Linked DNA regions of Homo sapiens: region 2 is linked to region 1. Evidence: promoter capture Hi-C in 16 types of primary human blood cells and fetal thymus (Javierre and others, 2016). All regions are on one chromosome and are shown on one strand. The core of a region is centred on a gene start or on the middle of the fragment in contact, and the rest is flanking DNA. Distances in the headings are between cores, read along the strand shown.

The links. The method cuts DNA at HindIII sites, captures the fragments that hold promoters and counts their contacts. A CHiCAGO score of 5 or more calls a contact.
Region 2: the fragment with the promoter of MTMR6 here is called in contact with the fragment with the promoter of POMP in region 1 in 1 of 17 cell types (non-activated CD4 T cells); the score reaches 6.7 in non-activated CD4 T cells.

Annotation. Positions count from the first base shown.
Region 1 is chr13:28,655,200-28,660,499 of GRCh38, forward strand. It overlaps POMP (proteasome maturation protein), which reads left to right and starts at 3,931. Exons shown (of 6, transcript NM_015932.6): 1 at 3,931-3,988. The coding sequence starts at 3,986. RefSeq lists an enhancer at 3,424-3,583 and a silencer at 3,804-3,863. The HindIII fragment of the contact is 5,788 bases long and covers 1,120-5,300 here.
Region 2 is chr13:25,284,733-25,290,032 of GRCh38, forward strand. MTMR6 (myotubularin related protein 6) reads right to left here and starts at 2,756. Exons shown (of 14, transcript NM_004685.5): 1 at 2,492-2,756. The coding sequence starts at 2,515. RefSeq lists enhancers at 2,136-2,756, 2,460-2,799, 2,900-3,069. The HindIII fragment of the contact is 4,901 bases long and covers 2,095-5,300 here.

The sequences.
Region 1 (5,300 bases), core at 2,681-5,180:
CCTTTTTCTAACAGCTGCATCTTTGTCCTTGATTCCCTCTCACAACTGTTCTGGGCATCTGAGAGATCATTATCTCAATCATTCCTTCTTGCTGCTTCTCTTCCCTGCTGTCTTCACTCTTGCCCCTTCACCAACTCTTTCTAACATCTGCCTAACAAACTTTGGTCTGTCCAATCATGCACATGAAACAAAAACAAAACCCAACTTTCATTCAAACCAAAATCCTGATTCTATTTTTTGAAATGGACAACTTTCTGAAAAGAATGATCTATAAAATTTGGCTGCCTCCATTTTCTTCTTATAAATTCTTCATTCCTAACAATCTGGTTTATAGTTAAACTGCTCACCAGAAGATTATGCAAATGACATCCCATTTGCCAAACCCCATCGATCTTCCCATAATCATTATCTGACATCACTGGTCATTCCCTTATCTCAACATCGTATCTTCCTTAGCTCTGAGACATTTTCAGACCTCTCTTCTCTATGCCTCTTCCAGCTTCTTAAGTTCTAAAGAGACACTCACTACATACTAGATTTCAAAATCCTGCTGAGTACCTGCCTAAAGTATGCAAGGCACTGTGCTGTGGAGACAAAGCAGCTTTTAAGAGGGGGCTAACCAAGCAGGCTGGGTAATAGGGTTTGGGTGCCCAGGGCCAAGCTTAGGCAAATAACAGAAAAGAGCAAAGTTAAGTGTAATTTTAGATCGTTAGGGAGCACTAAAATTTAGGTCAGAAGACCCAAATTCAGCTGACAAGATGAAGTACAAGAATAGTACCCAAACAGGAGACAGATGAGGTAACAAATGGGGAAAGAGCTAGGAGGAGGGAGGAGGGTTCTTGCCAGATGTGAATGAAGCTGAATTTGTCCTCAGTTTACCTAGCTATGTCACCAGACTGACTTAAGAGTAAAGTCAAAGACGACTACAAAAAGTAAAACAAAATAGGGTGCTTGTTCTCATACAATGCCTCAGCATTTTCTGTGAAATGTGCATAATGATAGTATCTACCTCACAGGATTAATTGAAACAATATATGCAAAAAACTAAACCCTGGCCTGACATGTAACAAATGTTAGCTATCATTACTAATGTTCTATCCTCTAAGCTATTTAACATAAAGCTTAAGTAAACATAATTAAATCATTCCAGCATCAAATCTAATTTACTTCTTATTTAGCATACTCAAAAGTACCCCGTATTAGTTAATACTGTAACAAACCATTTAAAATAGGACATAAACTTGAGTGTAAGACTCAAAATAAAGGGAATTTTCTCCTTGCTGAGCCACTAAAACAACTCTTCACACTGGTCACCAAAAGCCTATTTTCAGGGCTTTATGATCCCTTTTTAGCTACTTTTGAACTACTTTCTAACCTCTCAATACTTCCTTGCCCTTTTGATTCGAAGATGGCATAGCCTTTAAAGCAGGCTCCCCTTCTTCTGGCTGTCTTTTGAATTCTGGTATTTCTTAGGTTCACTCCTACTTTTTCCTTCCTTTCAAAGCCTTTCCAGTATGTGACACTACCTTAGCGTACCATTAGTGGCTTAAATGGTATCCTGGTTCCTACTTTCTCCCAATCTTAGTCTGTCCTTCATGCTGCCACCAGAATTTTTTTTTTTTAATGCCAAATGTTTGTGAAAAGACCTCCATTATCTCCTGTTGTCTATAAGAAAAAGCCCTAAACCTCAGCATACCATAGAAGGCCCTTCGTTTTGGCCCCAACCTGTCCCTCCAACCTCATCTCATTTTGCTTCACCTGCTCACCCAGAGCTCCAGCCACAGGGAAATGTTTTCCATTACTCAGATAACAACACGACTTTTCACAGATCTCTTGCCTTTACATGTTCCTCTTCCGTGAATGCTGTTTTCTCCTGCTCCCAACAACTTTCTGGTTTAGCCCCTTTCTCTATCAAGCATTTATCACACTGCATTTTATTATTTTATTATTATTATTTGAGATGGAGTCTTGCTGTGTCACCTAGGCTGGAGTGCAGTGGCGTGATCTCTGCTCACTGCAACCTCTACCTCTCAGGTTCAAGCGACTCTCGTGCCTCAGTCTCCTGAATAGCTGGGACTACAAGCATGCACCATGATGTCTGGCTAATTTTTTTTTTTGTATCTTTAGTAGAGATGGGCTTTTGCCATGTTGGCCAGGCTGGTGTCGAACTACTGACCTCAAGTGATCTGCCTGCTTCCAGCTCCCAAAGTGCTAGGATTACAGGTGTGAGCCACTGCACCCAGCCCATGCTGCATTTTAAATATCTGTTTGCATGTCTATTTCCCCAGGAAAATATATAAGCATCTCAGGTACAGGGAATTGCTCTTTTCTTCTTTATAGCTCCAGAATCTAGTACCAAGCAAATGTTCAATACATATTCATTGAACTGTGAGCAATCAGCAAATGTTAAAATGATTTTTAAGAAAAGATTCGCAGTTTTACAATTTCTCAGGTGGAATTGACGGAAAGAAAAAAAGATGCAAACGAAACACTCCAACTCAAATCTCAGGATTAAACATGGCTATTGTGAAGGACCAGAAGACACCTAAAGGACAGCATGGCAGAACACATAACATCTGGAACTTCAAAGTTGTATGACCATGGCAGTGGATATACATAACATATATGGCCTTATCATTTTCCTCTCTCAAATCCTTCGATGGCTTTTTAAAGACAAAGCCTCATCCTTAATCTTGCCTACAAAGGCTGCATAAAAAACCTGTAGCTAGGTCCCATGATGCACGCCTGTAGTTCCCATTACTCAGCCGGCTGCAGCAGGAGAATCGCTTGAGCCCAGGAGTTCAACGCAGACCTGGGCAACATAGCTAAACCCTATCATTATTTAGAACAAACAAACAAAAACAACAACAAAAACCACTTGCCTCCATCTACTTACAACCTCATCTCACAGTACTCTCCACTTTACTTTCTGAACTTTAGCCAGACTTAGGCCTTCTTTCCAGTTCCGTTTTTGCACAAGCAGATCTGCACGTAATGTTGTTTTAAATATCCTACTACCCCAAACTAGTTCGCTCTTATCTTTTAGCTGTCAGTCCAAAGATTCCCTAAGATGTCTCCATCCTGTGGCAGCAGACTATAAGGCCGTTTTATTACATTATATTTGAACAATACAGAATAGTGTAATGAGCATGGATTCTAGACTCATAAATATGTCCTTAGGCATATTTATTTAAGCCCTTCATGTCTCGGTTTCTTCACCTGTAAATTGTACTTGTAAGGTTATTGAAAAGATTAAAAGAGATAAAGGATGTAAGCACTTAGAACTGTGTTGATAACGCAATTCAAAGGGCCCAACATATGTCGGTCATGATCACATTTACTTAATTTGTAGTCACTATCGTCCCCTCTCTCCCCTCTAGCCTCCGGAGTACCCCTGCTCCTCTAGCCCAGAGGCCACACCGGCCTGGTCCTTTTTTGTATTCCTAGCCTCAGCACAGGGTTCGGAACATACCAGGCCTTCAATATTATGTTTTTTAAAAATGACAAAAGCCTTGTGTCCCAATTTTGCTTTATTAGCCGAACGATCTCAAGCAAATCACTCAAACCACCTACGCCTCGTTTACCCTTCTGTGAAATGTAATAGCTACCTCAGAGAGGTTTTGTGTTAAATAAGGCGATGTACCTACAAAAGCACACTGCACATCTTAAAATGCCGTACAAACCGTAGATGTTTATTAATAAACCGGAGTCCGTGTCTTCCCTCCCCTCAGGCACGTCTCGTCCCGACCCCTCCCTCCTCCCAGCCCACACCCTTACTGCGCCCTTGGCCCTGGGTCCCTTGGGATTGCAAGCGTGGGAGCCTCGGCCCCGCGCAGCTCCCTCCGGCGTCCCGCGCCCTCCTTCCTTCCTCGCCAGGACGGACGCACTTCCGGCGGATGTGGGGGCCAGCCCTCGGAAACGGAAGTGAGCGGCGGGGTCGACTGACGGTAACGGGGCAGAGAGGCTGTTCGCAGAGCTGCGGAAGATGGTGAGTGGGTACCCGGGCGGCTGGAGTTCCACGCGGGCTCGGGACCGTGGCTCGGCAGAAACAGGCAGTCGCCTCCCAACCCGTCCCCGGTGGCGGCGGCGGCGGCAGCGTGGGGCTGAGGCCGGCCTCAGGCGCCATAATCTGTCGAGTCACGGGGTTTGGGTGGGTCGTGACTGTCGCCGGGGCCCGGCACTAGTCCCACTAGCAGTGCTTCGGCTTCATCCTGCTCCTCTTAGCTCGGTTTGCGCCCTTCCATCCCTTAGACCCCAGCAGGCCCAGACCTCCTCCCCTTACTTGGCGCAGAAGTGGAAAAGGCAGCCGTGAAAGTGCAACGTTCTGTGGGGTGGCGCTGGCGACCCTTTCCTTGACGGGTAACCTCTGGGAGCCCAGAGCTCTCAGACTCCTCATCTCCCCCAGCCCCCGCCCTTGTAACTGCCTAGTAAACAGCCCACAACTATAGGTCGCATTTGTGTAACGCAGCTTTGCTCTACAAACTTTTTTGAGAGCTTGTAGTGTGCTAGATGTTAGAGGGGAAAAAATCAGACAGTTGCTATTCCCTGTTTGCCAGTATTGTTAGTATATCTCCTCCCTCCTTCTCCTCCCCACCACTTTCTCTTTCTTTTTAACTTAGAAGTTGTGGTATTTGAGAAGAACACTGAGTCACCATTGCCACAGACTCTGATATCGGTACTGCTGGTAGGCCATCCATCCAAATCTAGAAAGTTTCTATTGGTAAATACTGCTAATCGTTATCTAAAAAGTTTTTTAGGCACTCTCAAATGTAACTAGTAGTTAGGTTTTCGTAGATTTGCCTTTCTCGGCTCCTTCCTTTATTAGAAACAGCAAGTACTAATCTTGATATTTTACAGAAGGAAATTGGGAAAAATGACAATAACAGAATCCAGAAGTCAGAATTCACCTTTTCTTTGTGCGTTGAAACCTTGTTACTTTACAATAAAGCAGTCCAGAAGGAGGAGAATGTTCATATAGGGAAGTAATAGAAGATACATTTGGAAAGCAACAATCACACATCTCTGCTGAAGGTCCCCAACTTCTGGTGGTTCAACAATCTTCTGACTTTATGATGGTGTGAAATCCATACACAGTCAGTAGAGGCCATATTTGAGTACCAATACAGCCATTCTGTTTTTCACTTTCAGTACAGTATTCAATAAATTACATGAGATACCCAGTACTTTTTAATAAAGTAGGCTTTGTATTAGATGATTTTGGCCGACTGTAGGCTAGTGTAAGTGTTCTGAGCACATTTAAGGTAGGCTAGGCTAAGGCCTGATGTTTAGTAGGTTAGGTG
Region 2 (5,300 bases), core at 1,506-4,005, 3.4 Mb before region 1:
CTATGTTCAAACCAATCTTTTAAAAGTAAGTTATTTCCCAATACATTAATAATTTAAGAACATGTTACAGTCCCCACAACAATTAACAGAATGTACCCTGAGGTCCACCTCTATCTTGCTGTTATATACCCAGTGTCAATACAGTGTCTGGCACATACTAGGTACCTAGAAAATATTTATTTGCGGTCTACATACACTCACTTAATATTACTCCAGAGTAGTGATCCAATACTAGAAAAACAACCCAAAGTAATAAAGGAGCATATTTGAAAAGTAGTTTTAATAGACAATTCATCAGAAATTTCTTAGTCTCTAAAAAGGCCTTATTAAACCACTAGCATGAGACCACTGTGTAAAGATAAGTCAAAATCAGAGCATTACTTGAAGAAAAGTTCATCAGTTGGTAGATAAGGAGGAATATCAGACAAAATGAAAGTCACCAGTGACAACTTTCAAAGAGCTAATAAGAGGGGCTACAACTCTACAAATAAAAACAAAGATATATATTCATAATAAATTGAATGAGGAAAGATTTAAAATAACCAAGGGATCCTAAATATTTTCCAAGTCTGTTCACTCTTATCATCCACCTAAGAATAGGATTTGCTCTAGTTGATCAGATTCAGTTTACTTTTACTGATTTTTTATTCTTTTCCGCCCCCCCCCCCCCAATTATGTCACCCAGGCTGGAGGGCAATGGCGCAATCTTGGCTCACTGCAACCTCCACTTCGTGGGCTCAAGCCATCCTCCCATCTCAGCCTCCCGAGTAGCTGGGACTACAGGTACATACCACCCCACCCGGCTTTCTTTTTTTTTTTTGAGACTGAGTCCCGCTCTATTGCCCAGGCTGGAGTGCACTGGTGCCATCTTGGCTCACTGCAATCTCCACTTCCCCGGTTGAAGCAATTCTCCTGCCTCAGCCTCTGAGTAGCTGGGATTACAGGCGCCTGCCACCATGCCCGGCTAATTTTTGTATTTTTAGTAGATATGGGGTTTTGCCAGGTTGTCCAGGCTGGTCTCGAACTCCTTACCTCAAGTGATCCGCCCACCTCGGCCTCCCACAGTGCTGGGATTACAGGCGTGAGCCACCGTGCCCAGCCTTTTACCGGTTTTCGATTGTGTGCTATGCACCGTAGAAAGCATATGAAAAATAGAGGAGCTTCGAACTGATGCAGAAGGAAGTCACGTGCACTTAGCTACTACATAATACATATCTGGAACCAATACAAGAACCTGATCCAATGTCCACTCTAGTCCTCTTTTCCTCTGTGCACCTTCTACGAGTTTGGTTATAGACTTAAGCACCCTTCCATTTTCAAAATTTAAGTACCCACAACTTGAATTCTCAAGTTATTTTATCTTTCTTCTCTTAAAAAAAAATGTTAAGGGGTTAGTTTTCAGAATCTTCAATTTTACTAGATACGGTATGCACAATGTTAAAGACAAGCTCCAATAAAAATTTATGTATACCTTTAAAAGGTTTGTGAAACATTTAAAAAATTTTTAAAAACACAAATTCTTCTTGGAACAATGAAGATAACGAACATCTGTGGTTCCCTAAATGAGCCGTAATTTTAAGATGGGCAGCAACTAAAGGGCTTCAGCTTTGCCAAAACGTCAAGAGGCTGCCTTGCAGTGGGCTCGCAGTGATTTTAAAATGTTATTCTTCTCGTCTCGATTTATGTTTTTCTCCCTCTCAAAGTTAAACTTAAATGTCGTTGGAAACGTAATTTGGTAACATTCTGATGTCATTTCCTTCCGTTTTTAAATTTGTAACGAAATAAAAATATTTGTTCGTTCTCAAAATGAAGGTCTTCCACACACAAAAATTAAGCATGGAGTGCAATAAGGTCAATCGAATAAAGCTGCATCCGACCTTTTAAAATATGGAATAACATTTTTCCCTTCTCCAGAACTCTTGACTACTGACACAGGACAATGCCTGAAGTATGAAGCACAGACACGGAAACACCGGATGCGAAAGACTGGAGACCGAGACAGCAAAGGGAGGTGGAGCGGAGTGCTGATCTCGGTTCCTCCAAAACTCGTACTGTGAATCTGTGACACGGGACAATGAAATGTGAGCAAGGACAAGCTTACACAGCATCATAATGTTAATTTGAAGACGGTTTTCCGGTTGATGAGGCAACGAAAGGCTGAAAGACTCCAAAGTTAAAGGAGCCCCAATTTTGCCCGAGAAAACGTAGAGCTAGGAGGGCGGTGACCAGTTTTCCCAGACTTATCTCTACGCACTCCAAGATGCTGAAAGTGGGACCCCTGCTCCTGTAGGTACAGGAGGCCTCTGCACCCCGCTTGGCCCAAGCTAACCCTGCCCTCCCAGACCAGGCCTGGCCAGACCCTCCCGCCCCGGGCCGGGTCTCCGCCGGGCCGGCTCCCAGCCCCAGTCAGGCCAGCAGAGCCTTCGTCTCCTCCTGCCTCAGCCGGGTCAGAGCAGGGCCCCTGAAGACTGGCGATCCCGCGCCCGACTACCTTGGTCGTCCGGATATGCTCCATCGCAAGGAGACGTCAGCCGGCAGCCGGTCTCACAGGCGTACCATACGGCTACAGAAACAGGGCGGTGACAGCGACAGAGAGCAAGCGGGAACTCCCTCCACCAGCCAGCGCCGCGGGTCTGTCTGCCGGCCCCGGTGGCGTCAACGGCGCAGGTGCAGCCGGTGAGCGCCGTCTCCTAGAAACACTTCCCCAAACCCCGCGGCCTCCCGGGGGACTCGGGGCAGGCAGACAGAGCGTGTGTGGACCGAGAGCGGCTTGCTGGTTCGTCCCGGACAGCGGCGGATCCCACAGCGCCCCCTGCTGGAGGAGGCCGGTACTGCTCACCACCCCACCCGAGGCGGTCTTTGTCATCCCGCCGAGCGGACGCGCGGGGCGGTCGGGGAGGAAGACTGCGTGAGAATGGATCCCGAGTAAAGGGTTCTTGTGGGGTGAGGGCAAGAGTGGAGGATGTTCTGAAGTCCATCGCCATACCACTGGACAGCACCAAATTTAGTTTGAGCTGCAGTTCTACTCATAAGAATGTATTCTAAGGAAATAATCAGATTTGGAGTTATTATTCTAAGGAAATAACCAAATAAGGAAACCAGCCTTATTTGAAACAATCAACTCTCCAATCCTACGGATTCCTTATGTAAAGTATGATGATTAGCTAGTCCTCAATCTGGTCTGGTGTCAGAGTCCCGCCTCCTACCTCAATTTCATACGATGTTAGCACCAGCATCCATTAAAACTCATCCTGTAGAGGGATATCACATAACGAAAATGTTAATGCTGCATTACTGAGTGAAGAAAAAACTGACTATGGAACAATAAGTTCAATGTAGCCGTGCTCTGTAATTTTTATTTATGTAAACAAAAAGTTTACATTTCTAGGTGAGGGTTACAGGTAATTTTTGTTAGAACACGTCTAATGTGGTACTTCTCAGCCTGGAGTGAGTTTTCTCCCCGGGGGACATTTGGTAACATCTGGAGATATTTTTGGTTGTCTCAAATGGTGGTGGTGGGGGGGTGGCGGCGGGGGGCAACTGGTGGGTGGAGGCCAAGTCACAAGTCGGCTGCTGAACACCCTACTAGGCACCAGACCAACCCCCCAACTACAGGGAATTATCCGGCAGATGACAACAGTGCAGAGGTTGAGAAACCCTGCTCTATGCCAGGCGCGGTGGTTCACGCCTGTAATCCCAGAACTTTGGGAGGCTGAGGCGGGCGGATCACTTGAGGTCAGGAGTTAGAGTCCGAGAAACTCTGCTCTACGTTTTGTAAGTATTCTGTACTAAGCCGGTTAAGGTTTGTAATCTTCATCTTTCATACTGTGATTGGTGTTAGAAAAGCCTAACATCTAAATTTTCTTTTATAATTAAAAATTTTGTTTCACTTATTTGTTTCATTTTGTTCAAGTTGTCTTGGTTTGTTTTGTTTTGAGTGCCTACGATGTTTCAGACAGATTGCCAAAGCAATGGAGATGGTTATTAAACACAACAGCCTTTGCGGTGGAGTTGCTGACTCCTCTAAGCTAAATATGTAATAAGAGTTACATTAAACCACCTAGAAACCAACCTTAGTACAGTATCACATCCACCCCCTCCCCCCGAAAAAAAACCCCACAAATCCTGCTCAGAAAAAAAAAAAAATATATATATATATATATATACACATATATATATATATATATATACATATATATATATATACACATATATATATATATAGAGAGAGAGAAAAGTAATGTAGGTCTTTACTGAGGATTGCTTTTTGAGAAAACAGAAAGAGGTGAATTGTATAGCATACAGCAAGACTTTCTTAACAAAACTTTTTATATCATTTTCCTCCCAATTTACAACTTCCTCCTTCCCCATTCCCCTACAGATTATCCTCCCTCTTCTCATCTCCTCACTTCCTGTGTCCTCTCTTTACCAATTCTCACAGAGAGGCAATCATAATGATGTCAGGTGACCAAATGTACTGAGTGCTTTACGGGTATTCTGAGGAAAATGCTATTGCTTTCTTTATTTTAGAGATGAGACAAGCGAGACACAATGAAGTGAAGTAACTTGCCCAATATCACATAGCAGATAAAGCCAAGATCCATGTTATAAAGCCAGACAGGCTGACTTCAGAGTCTGTATTCTTAACAACTGTTTTACATTGATTTGCTTCTCAAAATCCATATTAAAGTTCTATTTATGTTAATATGATAGGCTAGAAAATTACCTAGCTTTACAGAAAGAAAGTAAAATAACAGATAAAATATTAAATGACGTTTCTTTGACTCTTGAGTTGAATACTCTTGCACTAGATAGAATATTCCTTATGGTTAAATCTGGCAATCACTCAGTTCCATTATCTTTCCTCGAGACATCTCTTTAGAGGTCTCCAGATGCTTCTAGGAGCCTTTTCTCCTTTTGCTCCAGTTTGCACTTGTGTTCTCTGAGCCTACTGAATGGATATTATCCTGGGACTCTCCTCACCATGGGCCTGAGAAATGTGTTGGTTACTTGTGCTGAATTTTTAGATCCTGTGGTTTATCTTTCTTGATTTACTTACTTGCATTGTTTTATTCTGATGTAGTATATTCTGTATTAACTTCCTGAGAAAGGGTGAATGGAGCATAAATCCTTGACGGGAAGTTTGGCTAGGTCTAGAATTCTGTAATTTTAATTAGGATTTTGAAAGCTCCCAGAGACATATCCTGACTTTCAATGCAGTTGTTCAGAAATCCGCTGGCATTCCGATTTCCCTTTAGGTGTCGCTTCTACTTTCTCAGGATGCTTTTTGGATCTCTTTA